Linked DNA regions of Homo sapiens: region 1 is linked to region 2. The links are contacts of gene promoters, found by promoter capture Hi-C in human tissues and cell types (Jung and others, 2019). All regions are on one chromosome and are shown on one strand. The core of a region is centred on a gene start or on the middle of the fragment in contact, and the rest is flanking DNA. Distances in the headings are between cores, read along the strand shown. Region 1 has its middle 27 kb from the start of LINC01765. Region 2 holds the start of TSPAN2 (tetraspanin 2).

Region 1 (5,347 bases), core at 1,297-3,796, 37 kb after region 2:
CCATATGTTGAATTTATCAGACAGAGAATTTAAATCAACTATTATAAATATATTCAAAGAACATAATTAAAGAAAATTATATCTAAAAATTATGTCTAAAAATTAATTGTTTAAAAATATTGCAATGATGTCTCACAAATAGAAACTATCAATGAGTCACAAATTATAAAAATAAACAAATAGAAATTCTGAAGTTGAAAAGTACAAAAACTGAAATTAAAAATCACTAGAGAGTCTCACCAGCAAATATGAGCCAGCAAAAGAAAAAAATCAGCAAACTTGAAGGTAGGTTGAGATTATTCAATCTAAGTAATAGAAAGAAAAAAGAACTGTACCTCAGAGATGTGTGGGTTTCCATCAAACACACCAACATGTGCATAATGGGACTCACAGAGAGAGAGGAGAGAGAAAGGAACAGAAAGAATATTTAAAGAAATAATAGATAAAGACTTCCAAAAGCTGATGAAAAATAATCTTCCCATCCAAGAAACTCAATAAGCTTGAAGTAGGATAAACTCAAAGACATCTACATGCATTATCATCAAATTGCTAAAAGTCAAAGACAAAGAGAGATTAAAAGTTGTAACAGAAAAACAACTAATCATGCAAGGGCTCATTAATGAGACTAATAGCTAGCTTCATATCGGAAGGCAGTGAGATGACAAATTGAAAATCCTGAAAGAATGAGGCTGTCAATCATGAATTTTATATTAAGCAAAACTATCCTTCAAAAATGAAGGAGAGGTTGGGCACAGTGGCTCACGCCTGTAATCCCAGCACTTTGGGAGGCAGAGGTGGGTGGATCATGAGGTCAAGAGATTGAGACCATCCTGGCCAACATGGTGAAACCCCGTCTGTACTAAAAACAAAAAAATTAGCCAGATGTGGTGGTGTGCACCTGTAGTCCCAGCTACCCAGGAGGCTGAGGCAGGAGAATTGCTTGAACACAGGAGGTGGAGGTTGCAGTGAGCTGAGATAGTGCCACTACACTCCAGCCTGGTCACAGAGCAAGACTCTGTCTCAACAACAACAACAAAAAAAAAAAAAAAAAAAAGGGAGAAATGTAAACATTTCAAGATAAACAAAAAAATTAATGAAAAATAACTAGAATAACTTCTCTATGAGAAATACTAACAGGAGTTCTTTCAGGAGTTCTTTCAGGTTGAAATGAAAGAACTCTTGCAATAGCTTGACTCCATGTAAAGAAATGAAGAGCATTGTTGAAGGTTACTACATAGGTAAATTTTTAGCTACACTGACCAAGAAAAAAAGGGAAGAGCCAAGTTTCTAAACTCAGGAATGAAAGAGGGGACATCACCACTGACCTTACACAAATAAAAAGGATTTTAAGGGAATACTTTAAACAATTATATGCCAACAAATCAGATAACTAAATGAAATGGGAAAATTCCTAGAAAGACACAAACTACTGAAATGACTCAACAATAAATACAGAATCTAAATAAACCTATAGCAAGTGTTAAGGACTGAATGTTTGTATTCTCCCCAAATTTGTATGTTGAAGCCCTAAACCCCAGTGTGTTGACATTTGGAGGTAGGACCTTTGGGAGGTATTAGGTTTGGGTGAGGTCATGAGCATGGAGCCCCTAAGATGATATTAGTACTCTTATAAGGAGATGAAGGGACCAACACTCACTTTCTGCCACATCATGTGAATATACAAGAAGGGATCTATCTGCCAACTAGAAAGAGGGTCTTCACCAGGAACCAAATCAGCTGGCACTTGATCTTAGACTTCCCAGTCCCCAGAAGTGTGAGAAATGTTTGTTATTTAAGCCATACCACCTATGGCATTTTTGTTATAGCAGCCCAAGCTAACTAAAGATAGCAAGTAAGGAGATTGAATAAGTAGGTAGACTGCTTAAATGTCTGCCTCCTTCCCTTAGAGGGAGCACCCCAGGAAAGCAAGATAAAAGTGCACAGCATTTTTTGACTTAGCCTTGGAGATGACACAACATAAGCTCCTTCATACTGATAGAGGCAGTCACAAAGGCCTGCACAGATTCAAGGAGAAGACATAGACCCTTTACTTTAATGTGAGAAGTATTAAAGTCATTTGGCAAGATGAGCTTATAAGTGGGAAATATTGTTGAGGTCATCTTTGGAAAATACCGTCTGCCACAGCAGGCATATATATGTAAACTATATTTAAAAAGAAGGTTGTGGTTAGCTCTTTAGGAGAGAAGAGGCAGAAGGAGAGGATGGGAAGGAGTACATGTGTGTTTTGATTAGCGGTCTAGTTCTGGAATGGGTGGTGAGCAAGGTCATCTAGTATCACTGTACAGGCTGGGATTCGAATAACTCCAGGAACCATTATGAATTACAATGTGAGTGGGACTCCTAGAACTGTGCAATATGGCCACACTGCCGGTGGTTCACAGATGCTTATTATAATATAATTTAATATATTATCTGAAAGTAACAAGTAATAGAAAATAAATACACAAAAGGAAAAATAAATACAGAAATTAAAAGAGGACAAATAATAGTTTTAATCAATGAAATAGTCAATGGCATTTTGGGGGCACCCTGGAGCCACTTCCTGGGAGTGTTCCAGAGATACAAGGGCTGTCTTCAGAGAGATTAATGCCTTACCACAGTAGATTGCACTGGAGTGCTGCTTGGCTCGTAACCATTCTTTCTCTTCTGGGACCAGCAGAGGTGGGTTCCAGGTGACCCTGTCTGTGCTTCATGGTCTGTGCTTTCAGAGAATGCCCTGACCTCATGGTCATAGGGATGGCCATCTGACCAAGTTAGGCATATTAATTATTTCTCAAAATTTGTCCAAGCTGGAATTGAGAAAAGGGATTCAGCCTCTCTCTGGCACTGGAAGCCAAAAGCCGTGAGGCTCTGCAGTCCTTGGCCACCAGGTAACTTCCCAAGGAGATGGTCAGTCAGCAGAAGGGAATGAGGCAGCAGGCAGAGAAAAGCCAGGGCAGGAAGACAATGGTGAGCTGGTCCAGTTGAATTCAGCTACATTCTTGTACTCCCTTTGGTTGCTTTCTCTTTTGTCCTGGCCTAAAGAGAAAGCTGGGTTTCTGTTGCTTCCCATCACAAGGTTAAGAAGAATGCATACACACCCTGTCTGCAGAATAGCTCTACATAGCCATGGTTCAACATGCAGATTTAAAAGTGAACACCTAAGTGCTCAAGAGTTTCTAAAAAGAAAAGTGAGCATTTGAAATCCATCTGAGTAGCCCAAATGCATTCATTCATTTATTTACTTTATTCAGTCTTTAAACCAACACCTATTAAGCACCTTTTGTGTGCTAGGTTCTTCTGAGTCCAGGCTATTCATAGTTGGGCAAACCTCCATGGTACTCATGAAGCTTATAGTCTAGTGCAGAGGCAAACATTAAACCAAATTATCCAACATGTAAATGTGTAATTATAAATTCTGATAAGTGCTTGGAAGGAAAAGAATATGATGCTATGGGAAAATAATGGGATGGGCAGAGTTAAGAGTGGGCAGTCAGGAAGGACTCTCTGAGCAAGGGATACTTAAGCCAAAACCAAGATGGGGAAAAAGTCAGCCAGGTGAGAAATGTTATTAAGTTCATGCTCGGCACAGGGAACAGCATGTGCAAAGCTGTGAAGGAGAAAATGATAATAATAAAAACACAGTGCTTGCTATAAGCCAGGCATTCTTAGAATGAATCCTCACAACAATCCTGTGAAGTAAATACCATCATTAAGTCTCTTTTTTTCTTTCAGAATTGGAATCTAGGGCACAGAGAGGTTAAGTAATGTGCCCAAGGTCACACAGCTAAGTAGTAGAGCTGTGGCTCACATCTAGGAGGAGGCCATTGTGGCTGGAGCTGGTGGGTGATGGCAAGAATGGCAGATCAGGCTGGAGCTGTGTGGAAGGTCTGCGTCATGTCCAGCCTTGTAGGCCATGGAAGAGAGTTTGAATTTTATTCTATATAACCATGAAAAACAATAAAACATATTTAATCAGAAAAGTGCATGATATGTATATTTTGAAAAGCCAGTGATGGCATTTTAAAAATTCTATTTTGTGATTATGAAACTTCCGTATGCTCATTTGGAAAACACAGAAAAGCACCAAGCGGAAAATAAAAATCACCTCTAATGCCACACCCTGCAAACAACAGATAGTCACTGTTAACCTCAGAATATAGTCTTCCAATCATTGATAAGTATTTGCATTATAGCATAGTTAGAATTATGCTGCACCTATTGTTTTGTCAACTGCCATCTAAGAGATATACAGTATCATATGGTAGTTTTGATCCAAGATTTTTCAGGAAGAAATGTACATTAGTGATGTGGGGTGTGGGATGGGAGGACAGAAAGAAGCTCTTGTTTCAGAAGAATTAGTCCAGCAGGAAGACAGGTCGTGTCTGGGACATGGGTTTAGGTTGTCACTTTGGAAATCTGCTTTTGAGCCACATGTGAGCTCTCTGAAGATTCCATTTTCTCTGAGTTCTCCAAGGCAGAGACTAGCGCCAACACCTCTCCTTCCCCTGTAGGACGTACCCACACAAAGCAGCTGTCCTGTGCCACTCAGGCTGAGGAGAGATTGTCCTGCTGTGCCTCTCTTGTACCCATCTTCCTTCTGCCTTCAGGAAGTCATAAATCTGAGATGAGGGGATGGGTAGGTTACAGGCCTCAGATAGCTCCACCTGTTCATACATACAATAAATCACCAGCTTTGTCTCAGGCACGGCCACAAGCACTTTTTACACGCGTTATTTCAGTGAATCCTCCTACAGCCTCTGAGTAAGTGGTATTACTCCTCACCTTCACTGGTGAGGAAACTGAAGCCAGAGAAAGAACAACAGCTGGAAAGTGGCAGAGCCATCGCTTCTGGGCTTTTTGGTTAAGATCAAATGTAAGTGGCAGAACCAGTGGAACTTGAGCATGTCAGACCCAAATTCCATGTGTTTAACTGCTTCTTCATACAGAATATGTCCCTTGAAACCCTTTCACATTTTTCTGCTTTGTTGGAGGCAAATGTTCATTACTTTCCATCTGACCCTAGGATTGCACTGGACTGAAGGATGGCCACAAATTATAGGTGAAGCTGACCAGCCCCAAAGATTGGGATATTAAAGACACATGAATAATGGGCAGGTGCTTGGAGGGTAGATAGCCAAGTGCTGGAAACCCAGGCTTGAACTACCGTGCAGACCCCCTGAAGAGAGGAAGCTGGACCACTTTGTGCTCTAAGGTCAGGGCGAAGGTCTGAATCCTCCCACATCCATCATGGCCTCTGCCACAGCTGGATCAGGCTGGAATAACTTCCCTAAAGCTGGCTGGGAAAATCCCCAGGATGCCAGGCCACCAGGCAGCACTCCCAGGG
Region 2 (5,763 bases), core at 2,607-5,106:
CCCACGAAGCCCTCCAACCACAAAAAAACAACTTTAGAAACTTGAGTGGGGCTTTTCTGGAATCAGGTTCCCTCAGTTACAGTGAAGGCAGATATCTAGATACTTTATCCCACACTTTCCCTTAAGTCATGAGGTGCCTGTTTCAGTTGCCTCTTCGCTCTAGTTGCTGCCTCCACCCCCACCCCCCATGAAACTGGGGGAGAGGAAGGTCCTTCATGTCCTACTGCATGCCTTCTATATGCTAGGCACTATTCTAGCACTGGGGATACAGCTATGAGCAAAACAGAAAAAACAAAATTCCTGCTCTCAGAGTGTTTTAAGTTCTAGTGGGGAAAATCCACAAGTACAAATTGACAAGATAAGGTGTAGTTATCCTCAAATGAAGACAAATGGCAAGTCACTTGGCAAACTTATATACTATTCCCCACCAAGAAAGGAATCAGGAGAAAGAGAGCTAACATTTATTGAATGCTTCCTATGTGCCGATAACAAAAATAATAATTAATATTTTTGAGCATTTACTATGTCCTAGGCTCATAGGAAGTTGAGGTCACATACTTTATATATTCCCTCTTAATCCTCTCAATATTTCTGTTACTCCAATAGCACAGATGAGAAAACAAGCCTAGAAGTAACAATAACTTGCTCAAGTACACCCTGTTTGTGCAGGCACGCCCTGCTTGGGATCTCTGCACTCCAGCCTGATGGCTTCGACAGTCAGATGGTGGCGCACACTCCCCCTTGCTCTGCTCCTCTGCTGGTGGATGGTGCGTCACCCCCTCGCTTTGCCCAGCTCCATTCTACCAGTCCTTCCAGGTTTAGCTCGAATAGCTCCTTCTTAAGGAGAACTTTTCTGGCTCCTCATCATGACTGTGATCCTTTCTCTAAACTCCTTACTTAGATCACATATAGAGAAGGTCGGATCTAACCTCACTGGTTAACACATTCAAGCACTTAAAACTGCACTGCTCCTACTTCCTTTCCTTACTGTGCTTACGGTCAACAGTGTGAAACTTGTCACTTGATTCCACACTGTCTTATTTTTGTGTTGTTCCATATCCACTGGTCTCGTTTCCTCAATGAGATGAGCAGCTTAGGGAACTGTGTTTATATTTATAAATTATTATTTGTTTAATCATTGTTTAACAGAATGGGTCTCAAATTTGAGCATGGATCAGAATTATGTGAATGGCTTGTTAAATTAGATTGCTGGATCCTACCCCCAGAGTTTCTGATTCAGCAAGTCTGGGATGAGCTGAGAATTTTGTTTGTTTGTTTGTTTGTTTTTGAGATGGAGTTTCGCTCTTGTTGCCCAGGCTGGAGTGCAATGTGGCACCATCTCAGCTCACTGCAACCTCTGCCTCCCGGGTTCAAGAGATTCTTCTGCTTCAGCCTCCCAAGTAGCTGGGATTACAGGCACCCACCACCATGCCCGGCTAATTTTTGTACTTTAGTAGAGATGAGGTTTCATCATGTTGGCCAGGCTGGTCTCGAACTCCTGACCTCAGGTGATCCGCCTGCCTTGGCCTCCTAAAGTGCTGGGATTACAGGCATGAGCCACTGTGCCCGGCCTGAGAATTTGTATTTCTGACAAATTCCCAGGATATGCTGATGCTGCTGGCCCAGGAACCACTTTTGAGAACCACTGGTTAATTGAATGTACCACAGTGCTTAAGAGAAGGTAGGCGGCCAGGCGCGGTGGCTCACGCCTGTAATCTCAGCACTTTGGGAGGCTGAGGCAGGCAGATCATGAGGTCAGAAGATGGAGACCATCCTGGCTAACACGGTAAAATCCCGTCTGTACTAAAAATACAAAAAAACTAGCCAGACGTGGCGGAGGGTGCTTGTAGTCCCAGCTATTTGGGCGGCTGAGGCAGGAGAATGGCGTGCATCTGGGAGGTGGAGCTTGCAGTGAGTGGAGATCGGGCCACTGCACTCCAGCCTGGGCTACAGAGTGAGACTCCGTCTCAAAAAAAAAAAAAAAAAAAGAGAAGGTAGGCTGAGTTTGAATACCATCCCTGCCACTCACTAGCTGTGTGATCTTAGGTGACTTAACCAATTTGAGCCTGTTTCCTCATCTGTAAAAAATGGGGATAATAATAGTATATGTATATCAGGACTCTTGTGAGGATTATGTGTAATAATGAAAGTAATATGCTTAGCACTGTCCCTGACACATTGAAAACATTCAATGAATCCTTCCAGCTATCACTGGAAAGGCTGGTACAATATCAGCCACTAAATAAGCACTGAACCCAGCTTAAGAATTCCTCCTCAGGCTTAAAACTTCATAAGGCTTTGAATTCATAAGCAGTGAGAATGAAGGTTGTCACTGTGGCGTGACATCTATAATTAACAGCTTCTGAAATTAAGCCAGATTCCTAAAAAATACAACATAAAGGGTCTTCAGAAACGCCTCTCCCTATAGTATGCTTGATGTAAATCCCCACGTGTACAAAGGCCATGTGTCTCTTTAAAGTTCAGGGGATGTCGAGGAGGTACCTCCTTCACACCTTCCACTGCTGAAGGATACTGAAGAGCTTGGAGTTGCTGAAGTCACCCAGGCATCTGGGCTAATGGATTGACAGACAAAAGAGGAGCCCATCATTCAATAATTAATTAGTTGCAATCATGGGAAGACAACGTCCCCCAGAGCAGATAGGACAGCCACCTCCTCCAACCTGGTAGTTTCAAAGCACCCAGGCCCTGGCTGCTCTCAAACCTCTTTATCCAATGTTTCCCCTCAGGGTCTAGCTGAGCAGTTACACTGGCTGACATTCTCTTAAGAAAGCCCAAGAGGAAATGTGCAGAAAAGACAATTTTCAGACCTTGTCTCACAGTCCTGCAGGCCCTGGGACAGGGTATCCAGGGATGTAGGTCTGGTCTAGCTGTATCCCTGTCTCGATAATATAGGAGACAAGGGTCAAGATCCTATCTCTCTGTGAACCATGAATCCTGGGAACGCTGTCAGTTCAATCAAACCCTGCAAAGTTGAATGAGATCATCTCTGGGAGAATTAGTATTTAGCAGAGGCTGCGGCTGGGGGTTGTGGAGAGCTGCTGCTGCCCTTTAGAAGCCCTTCCATTCCCCATCCCCTTCTCAGAAGAGAACCCACCACCTCCTCTCACCCAGGGGTACTCTTACCCTGATGCCCAGAAAAAGGACGACGCCCCCCCACCACAATTTTCACTCCTATCTCCAATTTCCTAAACAAAACCATCACAGCCAGGTACAGTGTCCACACACTCGAATGGAGCACCACCCCAGGCAGCCCCAGGGCAGGGGTTTCTCTCCCATCACCCTGGCCAGGCCCTGGTTCCAGCTGGTAGGCAGAGTGAAAAGGGGGTGTGTGCACGGGAGACTGGAGGGGAACAGGGACCCAAGTCCTCCGGAGGTGAGGAGAGGCTGGGTCCCCGCACCTGGGGTCACTAGCTGGGAGATAAAAACCAAGGCAGGTGGGGGTTCCTTCCAGGAAAGAGCCACACGGTGTCTCTCCCCTTCTCACCATTTCTCATTGATCAACCTTCTGTCTTCCCGTTCTCTCCCTTCCATCCCTCCCCTCCCTCTTTGTTTGCCTTCTCCTCGCCTCCGCGTTTGAGCACCCAGCCCTCCCCACGAGCGCGACTCGGACGCCGCAGTCAGCAGCTCGGGGACCCCGGCCCCGCGCCCGCCACCCGGCCCCCTGCCCTGACCGGCCCTCCCGGCTCCTGGTCTCACCCAGAAGAGCAGGTTGAAGCCAAGCAGCAGGTACTTGATGCACCGCAGGCCCCCGCGGAAGCGCCCCATGCTGCGGCCCGGCGGCGGGATCCCCAGTCCCCAGGCCCGCGCTACGAGCGCGGGGAGCGGCAGGCTCCGGCGGGGAGGGGGCGGAGCGGGGAGGACCGGGGCGGGGCCTCCGGGGGGCGGGGCGGGGCCCGGCGGGGAGGGGCGCGTGGACCCCAAGCGGCGTGGCTGGCGACGGGTGGGGGCGCCAGCGGGTGGAGATCGAGCAGCCCGAGGGAGCACGTTCGCTCTTCTCCCGGACCCAGGGACCACCTTCCTTCCCTCCAGTGGGCGCACCGCCGCCGGCTATCGGAGCACCTGCAGGGCGGGAGCGCCCACCGGGGACTGGGGACCCATTTAATCAGCGCCCTGTGCGGAGACCGGTTTGAGGCCCGGGCGATGCTTGAGGGATAAGCACTTGGTCTCGTGGCTATGGAAATCTAGGAAGGTGACCTCGGGTAGAAGAGCTAAGTGGGGTCGGAGGTTGCCCCGAAGCTGGCAGGACCAGTCGCGGGGCACCTGACTGAGTGTCCAGGGCTGCGGCTCCGCGGCGCGGAGCAAGCACACAAGCAGCTTCTAGGGGACCCTCCCTCCGGCCCCTCCCCCCTCCTCGGGGGACTCTTACCTTAATAGGCAAGAACTGAGAGAGGGTGCGGGAGGCGGCGCCCTGAGTCCTGTGGGCTGCCCTCAACCCAGCCGGCCAGTGGAGGGAGTCTGACTTCTCATGTCCTGCCGGGTTCCACTGATCGGAGGGCTTGGAAGGATCCCAAATTTTCGGGATCTTAATTATGATGTGGAGATGGGAGAAAGGGGAAGGGGGCGGTTTTTGTTTTGCTTTGTTTTTATTAAGTTAGGCTGTTGGCAGGAAAATCAGACTCCCACTTCCATTGACTAAGTGTCTACAATATGTGGTGTCAGACAGTATGGGGGAGACAAGAAAGCAAAATTCGGAGAGCTTATGCATAAATTCAGCAAAACTTTGAGTGCCTATTATAGGCCAGACATAGTAGCAAGCCCCAGGGACTCAACAATGAGGAGACAGCCAGGCCCAGAACCACAGTCTCTGGTGTTGGAGACAGATCTGTAAGCAAATAGGGTGAGGAGAGAAGGGCTGGGTGCTAGACAGGTGTGCCTGGCCTGACTGCCTTAACCAGAAAAGGCATTGCTAAGGAGAGGGGCCTGATCTGGTCTAGAAGACGGAGCCCAGGCGGAAAAGATCAGTCCAGGAAGACAGCATGCGCAAAAGCACAGAGCTGGAGAGAACAAGGCCTCCAAGGGAGTTCTGAGAACCGCAGTTAGCCCGAGTGAAGCCTGGTGGGGGCAGAGTGAGTCAGGAAGGCAGGAGCCAAATCACAGCTTTCAGTCGGCTGACCAATGTGCCAAACTGTCATTGGCCCCGAGTGTCCCCACGTGCAACATGGAGGTAATAGTACTCCCCTCATAGAGTTGTGAAGATAAATGAGTTAGTATTTGTGAAGTGCCTAGAACAGTGCCTGGCACAGATTAAGTACTGCATAAGGGTTAGTATTATTGTATCACACTCTTATCAGTCAACCATTCAGTTTCTACCATGTTGCCATCTTTGCCTACCTCTGTGTCTTTGGACATTTGTTTGAATATCGACTCATTTATAAAAACGAGTCAAAGACAGAAAAATGAAAGTGCTGATTCTAGTAATAAACATGTCTCCAACAATGAAATAAAGACAAAGATGGAAGTCATTAGGTATGCAGAGAGAAGTGAATCATTAGCTTCAATCAAACACTTATAGTTCTATATCTGTCACCTCTGTTTTAGTATAAAGGAAAAGAACTAAGTTAAAGAGTAGTGTCTGGTACATAGAAGGCGTTCAGTAAATCAACTGAATGAACAATGATATTATACTTTAAATATATCGTTGAATTTTACATCTCTAAGACAAAATATGTCTAGAGATTATATAGAGGGAAGAGAACCCCTATTGTAACATATACATCTATTGTTTGTTTTTTTCATGCTACG

What was found. The method cuts DNA at HindIII sites, captures the fragments that hold promoters and counts their contacts. A contact is called where the count stands out against the background at its distance.
Region 1: a contact is called between a fragment that was not itself captured here and the fragment with the promoter of TSPAN2 in region 2, in 1 of the 25 tissues and cell types used here (aorta).

What each region holds. Positions count from the first base shown.
Region 1 is chr1:115,123,932-115,129,278 of GRCh38, forward strand. No RefSeq gene overlaps it. Among named protein-coding and RNA genes, the nearest start is that of LINC01765, 27 kb to the left of the region's middle. The HindIII fragment of the contact is 5,608 bases long and covers 1-5,347 here.
Region 2 is chr1:115,085,647-115,091,409 of GRCh38, forward strand. TSPAN2 (tetraspanin 2) reads right to left here and starts at 3,857. Exons shown (of 8, transcript NM_005725.6): 1 at 3,718-3,857. The coding sequence starts at 3,786. The HindIII fragment of the contact is 11,658 bases long and covers 1-5,763 here.